Linked DNA regions of Homo sapiens: region 2 is linked to region 1. The links are contacts of gene promoters, found by promoter capture Hi-C in blood cells and fetal thymus (Javierre and others, 2016). All regions are on one chromosome and are shown on one strand. Each heading gives the region's core, a stretch centred on a gene start or on the middle of the fragment in contact. The rest is flanking DNA. Distances are from core to core; before and after follow the strand shown. Region 1 holds the start of IRF5 (interferon regulatory factor 5). Region 2 has its middle 21 kb from the start of TSPAN33.

What was found. Contacts are between HindIII fragments. The CHiCAGO score rates a contact against its expected background, and 5 or more counts as called.
Region 2: a fragment that was not itself captured here is called in contact with the fragment with the promoter of IRF5 in region 1 in 1 of 17 cell types (M1 macrophages); the score reaches 5.2 in M1 macrophages.

Annotation. Positions count from the first base shown.
Region 1 is chr7:128,934,276-128,940,645 of GRCh38, forward strand. It overlaps IRF5 (interferon regulatory factor 5), which reads left to right and starts at 3,652. Exons shown (of 9, transcript NM_001098629.3): 1 at 3,652-3,774. RefSeq lists enhancers at 125-174, 445-564, 1,980-2,274, 3,942-4,525, 4,559-4,628 and 1 more and silencers at 695-784, 3,519-4,278. The HindIII fragment of the contact is 2,537 bases long and covers 2,561-5,097 here.
Region 2 is chr7:129,120,888-129,127,257 of GRCh38, forward strand. It overlaps the pseudogene LOC407835. Among named protein-coding and RNA genes, the nearest start is that of TSPAN33, 21 kb to the right of the region's middle. RefSeq lists enhancers at 1,348-1,517, 1,968-2,237. The HindIII fragment of the contact is 2,855 bases long and covers 1,941-4,795 here.

The DNA.
Region 1 (6,370 bases), core at 2,402-4,901:
GTCTCGATCTCCTGACCTCAGGTCATCCACCTGCCTCAGCCTCCCAAAGTGCTGGGATTACAGGCGTGAGCCACCCCACCCGGCCAAGAGGTGTTAAAATCTAAATCAGACTATGTCATGCCTCAGATCTGAACCTTTCAGTGACTGTCCCTAGCAAAGCCATAGCCTGTGAGGTGCCCCTCAAGGCCTCACCCGATTTCATTACTTGAGGATTTATCGTCTATCTTACTCTGCAGAATGGAAGCTCCAGGAGGGCAGGGGTTTTTAGACAAAGTAGAAATTGTCCACCACTTTATCCTGGCAGGTACAACATGCCCGATAAGCATTGTTGAATGTAGACTCACAGCCAATTCGTGACACTGGTGTCACCATTCTCCTTTACAGATGGGAAATGGGGCTTCTGGGGGAGTGAATGGCTTGCTTAGGTCACGCAATTCTAGATTGCAGAGTGAGGATTTGACTCAGACCTGTTGACCTCAGAGCCTGATGTCCAGCCAACAAGTTCTCAGAAACTCGGGGTTTCTGAGAAATAGGACAGTCAGCCTGGGGACCCCTGAGAGCCCAGGCCGAGGGGGTGGGTTTCCTGGGGTAGAGGTTTTGAGAGGCAAAGGCAGTTGTCATCAACCCAGGCTGCACTGAAGGGGGCTGTTCCAGAGCCAGGGTGCATTGTTCAGCTGCCCAGTGGGCCTCTGGGTTTCTTTCAGTTCCCTTTGGTGACACGGCTTCCCTCCTCCCCCCTGCTCCCCACCCCAGCCACCCCACTCTACACTCGCTCACACAGCGTAGCTTCTACTCGAGTCAGGGGAGGGTGCCTCCTACCACACCCTCAGTCTGTGATATTCCAGCCAGGGGAAATGGGGGAAGGGGCCATCTCACTGTGGGGAGTGGGGGGCCCGGACAGACCTCCCTGTCCCCACCGCCTCCTGGCCCATCAAGGGGAAATGGGAGTGCTCACACAAGGGCCGGGTGTGGCTTCACTTCCCCTCTACTTGCCCTTCCACCCCCAGGATGGCACTGGGAGGCCAAGGGATCCCAGATCCTGGAAACACTGGAGTGCTGCTCTCTGTCCTTCCTTTCTCCTGGGCCATGTCTCTGGCCCCAGATGATTCTTGGCTCAGGTTCTTTCAGTTGAGGGAAGTCAGGATCTGAGCCAAGCTGAGCCCCTGCATAGCCTCTATCCCGGGAGCCCCATATCAATGCTGCCGGCTTGGTAACATCATCCCCCTTTTAGAGACGAGGAAATGAGATTTGAGGTCCTACTTAAGGCCACTTGGCTGGAATACAGCAAAGCCAGGTGCAAGCCCCTTCTCTGCACGCAGCCCGTGCTGCTTCTTGAGGTTCAGAGGCTCTAAGGAAGGGGCCTCACCTGAGCAAGATGGACAGTGGGAAGGGGGCAGAGGGCAGAATTCTAGGGTCTCACGGTCCCTCAGAATGGGTGAGGAGTATTTGATAACAAAAGAAGGCTCTTCTTAGCTATTGCTCCAGATACGACCAGCATAGAATATTTTTCTATTAAGCATAACTGACCTCCAGTGAAAAAGGTTCCCATTTTGTGGGGAGCCACTTTTGAAATAGCAATTTCATTTTATTATTATTATTTTGAGATAAGATCTCACTTCTACGCCCAGGCTGGAGTGCGGTGGTGTGCCTCCTGGGTTCAAGCAATTCTCCCACCTCAGCCTCCCAAGTAGGTGGAACTATAGGTGTGTGTCACCACGCCAGGCTAATTTTTGTATTTTTTGTAGAGACAAGGTTTTGCCATATTGCCCAGGCTGGTCTCGAACTCTTGGACTCAAGTGATCTGCCTGCCTTAGCCTCTCAAAGTGTTGGGATTACAAATGTGAGCCACCGTGCCTGGCCTAGCAATTTCATTTTTAAAGAAAGAAATATAAAACGATCTACCCATTCACATTTTCCCCATCCATACTTTAAATTTTAAAAATATGAAATAATGAAATACTCAGCAGATACAAATAATAAAATACTTATATATAATGATATTTCGACTTCATATTAGGGCTTCAAAGGTCAGGAAAGAGGGAGAGATACAGAAGAGAAAAAAAAAAAACGTTAACACATGAGTGTCTTTTTTTAACTTGTTAAAGGTAAAGTTCAACCCAGGAGAAGGGAGGGGAGGGAAGGTCAAAGTTCTGATTCATCAACAAATACTACTTTATTTGTTAAAAATACAAGGCTCTGCTTGGCGCAGTGGCTCCCGCCTGTAATCCCAGCACTTTGGGAGGCCAAGGCGGGTGGATCGCCTGAGGTCAGGAGCTCGAGACCAGCCTGGCCAACATGGTGAAACCCCGTCTCTACTTGGGAGGCTGAGGCAGGAGAATCGCTTGAACTGGGGAGGCAGAGGTTGCAGTGAGCTGAGATCGCACTGCTGCACTCCAGCCCGGGTGACAGAGCAAGACTCCATATCAAAAAATAAAATAAAATAAAATGAACAATGAAAAGACAGGAGGGAGGTTCCTGAGTAAGCTGATTCGAGTGGAAATCAGACATCAAAATTGAAACCCGCTGAATTTTCCAAAAAGCCAGATGCTCATAGAACTGAAGCTTGAGACACTTACATCAGTACACCTGCTGCCTGTTGACCAATTCCTCTTCCTTGTCCCTCCTGTTTTCCTTCCCTGCTATATAAGCCCCTAACTTTAGTCAAGGGGAGGGATGGATTGGAGGTTTGTCTCCCCTCTCAACAGCTCACTGGCTGATGTCACCGGAATAAAGTCTTCCCTGGCAATACTCGCTGTCTCAGTGATAGGCTTTCTGTGCGGTGAGCAGCCAGACCTGGACCAAACCCCTGGCAATCCATAACAAAATCATAAGCAAAATCAACCAGGAAGCTATTTGCACCCTGGAACCCCACCTGGGAGGGGAAGTCAAGGCAGACTTTCCAGAGAAGGCGATGCTGAAAATTTCAGAAACAGAAATTTTGAAGAGCAAGAGTTACCAAGCGAAGAACATTCCATGAGAAGGAACAGGAGGTGTGTGAAGGTGGAGGTTCTGGGGTGAGGTTCTTTATGGAATCGAAAACGGTTCAGAACCACAGGTCGACGGTCAAGGTAGTAGTGAGAGGAGGTGGGACAGGCGACCACGCCGCTGCCCCTGGGATGACTGGAAGGCGACTTAGGGGAGCTGGGGCGAGACAGGTGCAGGGTTTGAGGATGAGAAAGGCACAGAGTGACTAGAGGATTCCCGCCTGCAAGCACATCTGGAAGGGGTGTCTGGATCCTGGGGGCAGCGACTGTGTTCTAGGGCGAGAGCCACCCTCGCCAGGGGTGTAGGCAGGCGAGAGGAGGGCCTGGAGCTGTGGGTCGGCCACACTGCGCCCTCATTTGTGTGCAGCCCCGGAGGACCAGAGTGGGGAAGCACCCCACCCTCTCCCAGGGCCCAACTGAGCACTGCAGCGGGAGGTACGGGGTTGTCAAATGACAGTTTTGCCATTCCAGATTGCCAAAAGAGCCAGTGGCCAGTCTAGGGCACCGCGCCGTCTGGCATCTCCCTGGAGGCCCTGGGCCTGGCCCGAGGCTCAGCCCGGATCTGCAGTTGCCAGGTCAGTGCGGGGCCCGGAGTGGATTCGCGGGGCGGGGCGGGGCACTGCCCGCGCCCGGAGCTCAGCAGCAGCTGCCCAGGGGCGGGGGCGGCAAGACGCGGAAGTGCCCGGCAGGTTGGCGGACCGGCGGGAGGCGCAGCCTGGGCAGAGCTCAGCTTGGTCCCGCCGCCCGGCCGGTGCTCCCTGGCGCAGCCACGCAGGCGCACCGCAGACAGGTGGGTCCCGGCCGCCGCGCTCTCCTCTCTGCGTCCGCGCCCGGCGCGCCCCGAGGGTGGCGGGAGCGGTGCCGGCTACTGCCCCCAAGTCTAGGCCTAGACTGGGCCCCGCGCCCCCCAGGCACCTGCGGGCGGCGGGATGAAGACTGGAGTAGGGCGGGGTCCGCGTCCAGCTGCGCCTGGAAAGCGAGCTCGGGTGGGTGCCTACAGCAGGGTGCGCCCGGCCGGCCTGGGACTTCCAAAGCGCCTCCCACGCCCCGATCGGTTTGGGGTGCTGGCGCCCGGGGAGCCCAGTGACCCAGGCGGCGGAGTGGGCAGCGCTGCGGGGGGCGCCGGCTCTGCTGCTCTCCCTCCCCCTCGCCATCGCCCAGAATGGGGGTTCCCGGGAGCCCCGCTGGAGGCTGGCTTGGACCACAGAGGAGCGAGGCCCGATCCTTACTTTCGATGCACTCGCCCTTGCTCTTACCGGGCCACCCTCACCCTTTCGGAAAAGAGGTTGAGGTTAAAGCGTTCATCCCCCGGGATCTTCAGGCCAATGGCAGGAACTGTGCAAGAGTTTGGGGGAAGATGGTGTCAGGTAGAGGCTGCGTCCCTGGGCTCGCGGCCGGGAATGGCAGACTCTCGTCCCCCGAGCAGCGGAAAAGGATGGGGCGCAATAGTTCCTGGGCTGGTTTCCTCAGGTCCTGTCCCAGAACTTAAGAAGGCAACAATGAAGAGGCTAAACGTGGAGGAAAAGTGAGGCTAGCATGGCCGGGATGCGTGGGGAGATGGTTGTCTCCGGACCCCGGGAGGGGCGGGAGCGGGTACCTGGGAGCAGAGGCTGGAGTGGGGGACTTTCCCAGCCTCGCGGCCACGCTGAACACAGCAGGGCGAGGACCGGGGTGCTGCTCCTCCAGCAGCAGGAGGAGAGGTCCAGAGGCCGACTCTGGAGGTGGGGGTGGCTCCGCGGGCTGGCCCAGGGGGTGTGCCCCAGCGGAGCACGCGGGAGGGGTGGGGGCGGAGGGGAGGGGGGAGCAGGGGCGGAGGACTGGGCTGGGCCTGGGCTCCTCGAGGGCCCAGAATGGGGATAAGTGACCAGAACCAGAGAGGGCTCGGCTGTATCGATGTAGGAAACTGTAGCCCCTCAGGAGGCCCTCTGGCAAGACCTCCCCTTCCTGCCCCCACCCCCAGTAGTTATGGGGCCTGGGGTGCTGGGGCTGAGGGGTTCCAAGAGTCAAGGGAAGCACTGGGAAATCACCCCTTTTTATCTAAAGGCCCTACTTTGGGGTTTTTCCCCTGTACCCTGGTCTTCCCCTACCCTGACCCTGGGAGGAAGCTGAAAGAAGCTTCTTTCTGGGCACCTTTTGCCCCAGAGCCTCAGCCTGTCTGGACCAGGTGGGCAGCAGGGCCCAGGGTGTGGGCAGCTGACCCGGAGGGGTGGGATTTGGGGGTCAGGGCCTGTACAGGGAACCCCTTGTCCTCTCCCTGAGCTGGGTGTGGGTTTGCAAGGAGACATGTGACCCAGACCAACCCTGGGAGCAGCAGGGCGCCTGCTGTCTGGCCACTCTTACTAGGACTGCTGTGGCACTTCCTCCCCTAGTGGGTCCCTGGTGCCCATGAATTGCAGCTCCTGGGTGGTGGTGGGGGCACTGTCTCCTGGGACTCCAGCATGGCCCTGGGGTGAGCTGTGGGCTTACCCCACCTCAGCAGGTCCTCTAGGGCTGCCCACTGGATGCTTCGCTGCCTCACACAATTGTAGGGACTTCCTCAGGCTGTTGGATTTCCCCACCTTCCGGGGCTCAGGTCCATTGACTTAGGTCTAGGGCTCCATACATTTCACCCAGAGACTCCGGAGCCTGGCAGGCAGACCTGTTCTGACACCGAACTTCCAAAGTCATGGGCCTTGATTGGGGTGGTCTGAATTAGACCTAGCCCTTTTCTGGGCAGAAGGGAGCTTCTAGGAGGATGGATGCTGTTCGGGTTAGAGCTCGTGTGGACCTAGCTGCAGGCAAAAGCCTTGAGGCTGAGTCCCTTCTGTGGCATGGTGGACAGACTCTCGCTCATCACAGCCGGGCTTGTCACGGGAGCTCCTCCTCCACACCCCTCCCTAAGCTGCCTGTATGGACGCGGCCCTCTGACACTGAGGTCGGAGTTATCATTTCAAAACCTTGCTCTGTATTAAACAGCCGTGTTGGGCAGGGCCAGACTGCTGGACTGACAGTAGGGGGCAGGCAGCCGGACCCTCTGAGCTCCCCAACGGCACCAGCGCCTGCACGGCCTCAGCCCAGGGGGTCATTAGGGAAGCTCTCCCCGATTCTGTGCAGACAGAGCTTCCTCTGTCCACCCTTGCTCGGCCAGAATTGTGTGCCGCTGGTGACTGGCACCCCTCTATTCTAGGGCCAAGGCCTCTCAGGGGTCTACAGATACAACTATGGGTGGGTGCACACCCATGTTATAAACCACACTAAATGCACAAAAACTGTCTGCAAGTTTGGGGTGCGGGGAACAGCTCTGGGTGGGAGGTTGGAAATTTGGTCTGGGGGACCCACTCGGCTCCCTCCCTCAGCCCACAGTGAGTCTGGTTTCTGAGTTGTCCCGGTCTAGCCACTTTCGTTTC
Region 2 (6,370 bases), core at 2,118-4,617, 190 kb after region 1:
CATCTCCTGTTAAAATGGAAATACATATTTAGAGTCGTGGTAGGGCAGGTAGACAAGTAACAAGCCTGAGTGGCCATCACCACATTGGTATGAATTAATTTAGGAACAAAGAAAAACTTCCTGGGAGGATATGATCTATAATGGGATGGTTGGGGGGGGGGGTTGTTAGTGGTGGTGGTAATGGGTTATTTTAGTTTTGAATGTGTGTGTTGCAGGGAAGGAAAAAGGTTGGTGGAGAGTTCAGAGCCAAAGCCATGCTGAATGACAGGTGGAAGACAGTCTGATGGATCATAGTCACTGTTCTTAAAGAATACATAATTCAGGCTTGCATGAGACAAGATGAACCACTGACATCCTAATTTCTCAAAGTAGTCATTGGAAATGGAAAGAAGAGCCAGGATTTATTGGAGGGTATATTCACACAGAAGGGGTTCATGAAGGTGAGGGACCCTTTCACCTCCCCACTGGGCAGAAAGCACTTGCCAGAAGAAAGGGTTGCAAAAGAAGGTTGAACTCAGCAAGAAAAGTGCCTTGGGTCAGTCTCTGTACTGCTAAATAGGGCCTACCACCCTACCCTGCCAATCCCTACATAGGCCCTGTCTTCAGTAAACACTAGAGTTCGCTTACCTTCCATTCCAAGAACCAATCTGACATCTGCTGTATTAGTCTGTTTTCACACTGCTGATAAAGACATACCCGAGACTGGCTAATTTACAAAAGAAAGAGCTTTAATGGACTTACAGTTCCACATGGCTTGGGAAGCCTCACAATCATGGCGGAAGGCAAGGAGGAGCAAGTCACATCTTACATGGATGGCAGCAGGCACAGAGAGGGCTTGTGCAGGGAAACTCCTATTTTTAAAACCATCAGATCTCATGAGACTTATTCACTATCATGAGAACAGCATGGGAAAGACCTGCCCTCATGATTCAATTATCTCCCACCCAGTCCCTCCCACAACATGTGGGAATTCAAGATGAGATTTGGGTGGGAACACAGCCAAACCACATCATCTGCTGTGCCTCATCCCACAGATAGCAGAGCTTCCTCCTAATCTATCAAGAGTTCAGCATTTAGTGAGTGGTCAGGATCTCACCCTTCATTTAACCAACTAACCACCACCAACCAACCACCACCATCAGAGGTGGGCCTAAGGCAGGCCTTGGGGTCTCTGGGAAGTGGGCCATGCTCAGTCTACATCCCAATGTGCTATGGCTCCTGACACTCTGAGCAGGGGCTCTCCCTTGCACACACCAAAGGAATGACTGGGCTTAAAAAACGTGCCAACTTGCTTATAAATCAGTCTCCTCAGATTCTACAATTCACCGAGCCATAAAACCTCAGAGCTTCAAAGATGCTTAGAAAATATCAAGGCCAGGGTTCCCAGGAAGCCTCAATGCTGCCATTTTACAAAGGAAGAAACTGAAGTGCAGAGAGATTAAGGGGCTTGTCCAGGTCACACAGCTACTTAGTGGTAGATCTGTAACTAGAAAGGTTTCAGTTCACACTCAATGTTCTTTCCTCTAGAATCTAACCTCTGCCCCCTTGTTATTTTTGGCATGAGAGAGGAGGATTATATTTATGTCTCTAGAAAAGCTGTGCTTTTGGATTGAATTCTGATTTTCTCTTCTCAAGTCTCATTGAGAACCACATGAAAAAACTCTGCTGGATTTGAGTTAAAAAAAAAAAAAAAAGAATCTGAAGAAAAAAATAGCAAATCTGGTATCCTAATGAGATAATGAATGCACAAGTACTTTGAAAGAGGTACAGCACTTCAGTGCTTTTCAGATATGAGGTTTTGTCATGCTCTTGAAAGAAATGCATAGGCTTTACTGACATGGGGGCTGGGGCTGGGGCTGGGGCCCTGGCAGAAATGGGGAAGCACAGGCTGTGGCAAGGGGGGTTTCTCCAGAAGGCTGACTCATTTCTTGGCTGTCCCAAGCTTAGAGAGCCAGATTTCTTAGGGTTGTTTACCACCTTAGTAAGGAACTGGTGGAGGGTTTTTTTCTGGAGTTAAGCACTGCAGGAAGAGCTGCCCACAGTATGGGGGTGGGTCATCTGCTTCTGGACTGCCCAGGCCAACTGTGGTTACCCCAGTTAACTGTGGTGAACTGTCCACATAACCAGCCTTCTGGATCTGCCTTTCAAGGAGTCCCACTGTGCTTCTCCCTGCTGAGGCCGCTGAAAGGGCATAGGCAATTGCTAGAGGTGAAGAAAAACTCTGTAGCTAAGCTATAAAAACAGGCATCCTGAATCTGGCTACATCCTGGTAATCTTGCACATAGGATGAATCCTAAGAAAAGGTGAGTCTTGTTAATGTGCACAGCACACAAGCCAGCGGGATGGCGTGCCAGTCAGCAGATTTTCAGTTTCAAGATAACTGAAAATCCATTTTTATCTGACTTAGACAAAATGAAACAAAACACCAAACCAACAAACAACAACCACACAATTTCACTGATTCGCATAACTGAAAAGTCTAAGGTTAGGGCTTGTTTCAGGCACCACTGATCTTGTGGCTCAAACTATGTCACTGGGACTTGGTTTAACCCTGTCTCAGCTCTACCTTTCCTCAGTGTTACCTTCTCTCTCAGGAGCCCTGGGGTAGCCCCCAGTGGCTGCAGGTCATCTGTAATCCCAGGGGGTCCCAGCAAAAGAGAGAGGGAATCCCTTTCAGTAATGGTCCTCCTCCCCAACTAAATTAGAGGCTTCATTCTGACTGGACCAAGTTAGAGCGCATAACCATCCCTGGGCTCTGATTGGCCAGAACAGAGTCCGGCGTTCCACCTGCCAGGTGGAAGGGTAGATCTCTCCCATGCTCACTGAGCCTGAGACAGGAGGTGGGGTGGCATCCCAAAGGAAATCTAGCATGCTGGTACCAGAACGGGGAATAGGTGCTGGGCTTGGAAAAATAACAGACAAACACTCAGTGCTACCCATTTAAGCATTTGAAATAATTTCACTTCAAAATCAGAGTGGTCGAGTCTCAGACACATGAGATTCTGTCTCAGATTTCTGGTGGCTTGAATGGAGGGTGTACAGAATCATGTCTTGATAAATGTTTAACTTCTAAGATTTGAAGTGCAGATATTGGTCTGGGTATCCCTCCTAGAAATCTTTGCATTTTCTGCATTTTCTTTTTAATATTTTATTTTTATTTTTATTTTTATTTTTTTGAGACAGTGTCTCAGTCACCCAGGCTGGAGTGCAGTAGTGCGATCTTGGCTCACTGCAACCTCCGCCTCCCGGATTCAAGCGATTCTTGTGCTTCAGCATTCGGAGTAGCTGGGACTACAGGTGTGAGCCACCACGGCTGGCTAGTTTTTGTATTTTTAGTAGAGACAGGGTTTTGCCATGTTGCCCAGGCTGGTCTCGAACTCCTGGCCTCAAGTGATCCTCCTGCCTCAGTCTCCCAAAGTGCTGGGATTACAGGCGTGAGCCACTCACTGCACCTAGCCTATATTTGAATTTTAAATAGTGATTCCACACCTTAACCTAACCATAATGGGAATTGGATTAGAGAATGGTGGGAATTTCAGACAAGTTGGTGAGGGTGAGAAGTAAGGGAAGAGAAACGTTATGGAACCTCTCACATAAAAAGTGCACAGTGGCCTACCCCTATATGGATGTGAGACTGCTCCTGATAGGAAATATCCCCAAACCCCTTGTTTGCAGTCCACGGCCCCAGTCTCAACTCCACCAAATCATGATGCTTCCCCTGAGATCATGATTGCGTTGCCCAGTTTCCTCTCTGACCAGACCTGATTCTACAGACAAAAGCCAACCTCCTCACTTCGATTCCCCTGGATCCTTTCCTCCTCTTCACATCTACAGCCGCTCTTCTAACTTCTTACTCCCGTTGCAATTCCAGATATTCCAGAGACAGGATATCTCCAAGGCACTCCAGGGCCCCAAATAACAAACCTTATTTGTTTTCCACCTCACACAATCTGAACTCTTCTGCCTGCCCTTTGAAACCCTTCGCGAACACCTCCAACCTTATTTCTTGCTCCTCCTCAATACAGCCTGTTCTGGTTGGCACAGCCTCACCTCTTACCTTTGCCACGATGCTACTCCTGCTGCGTCACTCAGTTCTGCATGGTGAGTCTCCTCCATCCACTGTGATCTGGAACCACGTCATTGTCAGTGGAGGTTGAATACAACTGGAATTTTTTATGGGATTCTAACAGACCTGTCCCTGATAATGGCGTGCCCCTAATTTCCGTTCTTTACTGACTACTCATTGGCTGTATCACTCTAGTTGCACAAATGATCTCTATCTCCCTCTATGCATGCCTACTAGGTCCAGGGAAGTAATATAGTGTTTGTAACTAGGAGTGGTAAAGATGATGGCTAATTGGAGAGAGTAAGCTCAAGCTAAAAGCATTCAAATTCAATTTTTTTTTTTTTTTTGAGACAAGGTCTAGCTCTCTTGCCCAGGCTGGAGTACAGTGGCATGATCACAGCTCGCTGCAGCTTCAAACTCCTGGACTCAAATGATCCTCCCACCTCAGCCTCCGGAGTAGCTGGGACTGCAGGTGCTCACCACTATGCCCAGCTAATTTTTTTTAAAAAAAAAATTGTGGAGACAGAGGTCTTTCTATGTTGTTCAGGCTGGTCTTGAACTCCTGGGCTCAAGTGATTCTCCCATCTTGGCCTCCCAAAATGCTGGGATTACAGACATGAGCCACCGTGCCCAGCTCAAATTCAAAAATTTTAAGACATTATGGGACAAAGAAAATTCACCTGTCCATCCAAATAATGTAATGTGCAATAAATCTGCAACCACTGCTTAAGCTTGTCTTGAAGTTTTTCTGTTTTGCAGGACTCTTCCTGAGCAGTACATTTTCTTCTCTTCTAACAGAGTTAGAATTTATTGCTTACAACTCTTTCAGAAAATGGCAGTAATTAGAAATGGAGTCTGAGGAGGGGGATTTGCTCAAAATACGAGTATCGTTTCTTTACCATTTTTCTTTAGCAATGTATTCTGTAATCATAAATGAGCTACATGAAGATCTGAGCACAGCCTGGAAATATTGCATGTTTAATATCAGCCTCCTTTCCCTTCTTCAGAATTAAACTCTGGATCCTTCCTAGACTTGGCCAGTTCCAAGTCACGACTTCGTCAGATACACTCTTGCTGTAAGAAGCAGTAAAGTTCAGTGGTTATGATCACAGACCTAGAGCTGGTCTATCTGGGTTTAAAGCCAGACTCTATAGCTTTCTGGATGTGGCTGTCTGTTTAACCTTGGGCAAGCTAGGTGACCTCTGTTTGCCTCAGTTTCCTCATTTGTGAAGTGCGGATAATAATAGTACCTACCTCATGTCATCGTTTTAAGGATTAAATGAATTAACACATTTAAAATATAAGAAGTTTGAAAAGCTCTTGGACTCCGGCTGCAGCGTCAGCCTCCCTCGGGCCTCGGCAGCGGCGGCGGCTCGCTCGCCTCAGCCCCAGCGCCCCTCGGCTACCCTCGGACCAGGCCCGCAGCGCCGCCCGCCCTCGGCCGCCCCGACGCCGGCCTGGGCCGCGGTCGCAGCCCCGGGCTCGCGTAGGCGCCGAACGCTCCCGGCCCGCCCACTACGGGCCCAGGCTAGAGGCGCCGCCGCCACCGGCCCGCGGAGCCCGGATGCTGGCCCGGAGGAAGCCGATGCTGCCGGCGCTCACCATCAACCCTACCATCGCCGAGGGCCCGTCCCCAACCAGCGAGGGCGCCTCCGAGGCAAACCTGGTGGACCTGCAGAAGAAGCTGGAGGAGCTGGAACTTGACGAGCAGCAGAAGCGGCTGGAAGCCTTTCTCACCCAGAAAGCCAAGGTCGGCGAACTCAAAGACGATGACTTCGAAAGGACCTCAGAGCTGGACGCGGGCAACGGCGGGGTGGTCACCAAAGTCCAGCACAGACCCTCGGGCCTCATCATGGCCAGGAAGCTGATCCACCTTGAGATCAAGCCGGCCATCCGGAACCAGATCATCCGCGAGCACCAGGTCCTGCACGAGTGCAACTCACCGTACATCGTGGGCTTCTACGGGGCCTTCTACTGTGACAGGGAGATCAGCATCTGCATGGAGCACATGGATGGCGGCTCCCTGGACCAGGGGCTGAAAGAGGCCAAGAGGATTCCCGAGGACATCCTGGGGAAAGTCAGCATTGCGGTTCTCCGGGGCTTGGCGTACCTCCGAGAGAAGCACCAGATCATGCACCGAAATGTGAAGCCCTCCAACATCCTCGTGAACTCTAGAGGGGAGATCAAGCTGTGTGACTTCGGGGTGAGCGGCCAGCTCATCGACTCCATGGCCAACTCCTTCGTGGGCACGCGCTCCTACATGGCTCCGGAGCGGTTGCAGGGCACACATTACTCGGTGCAGTC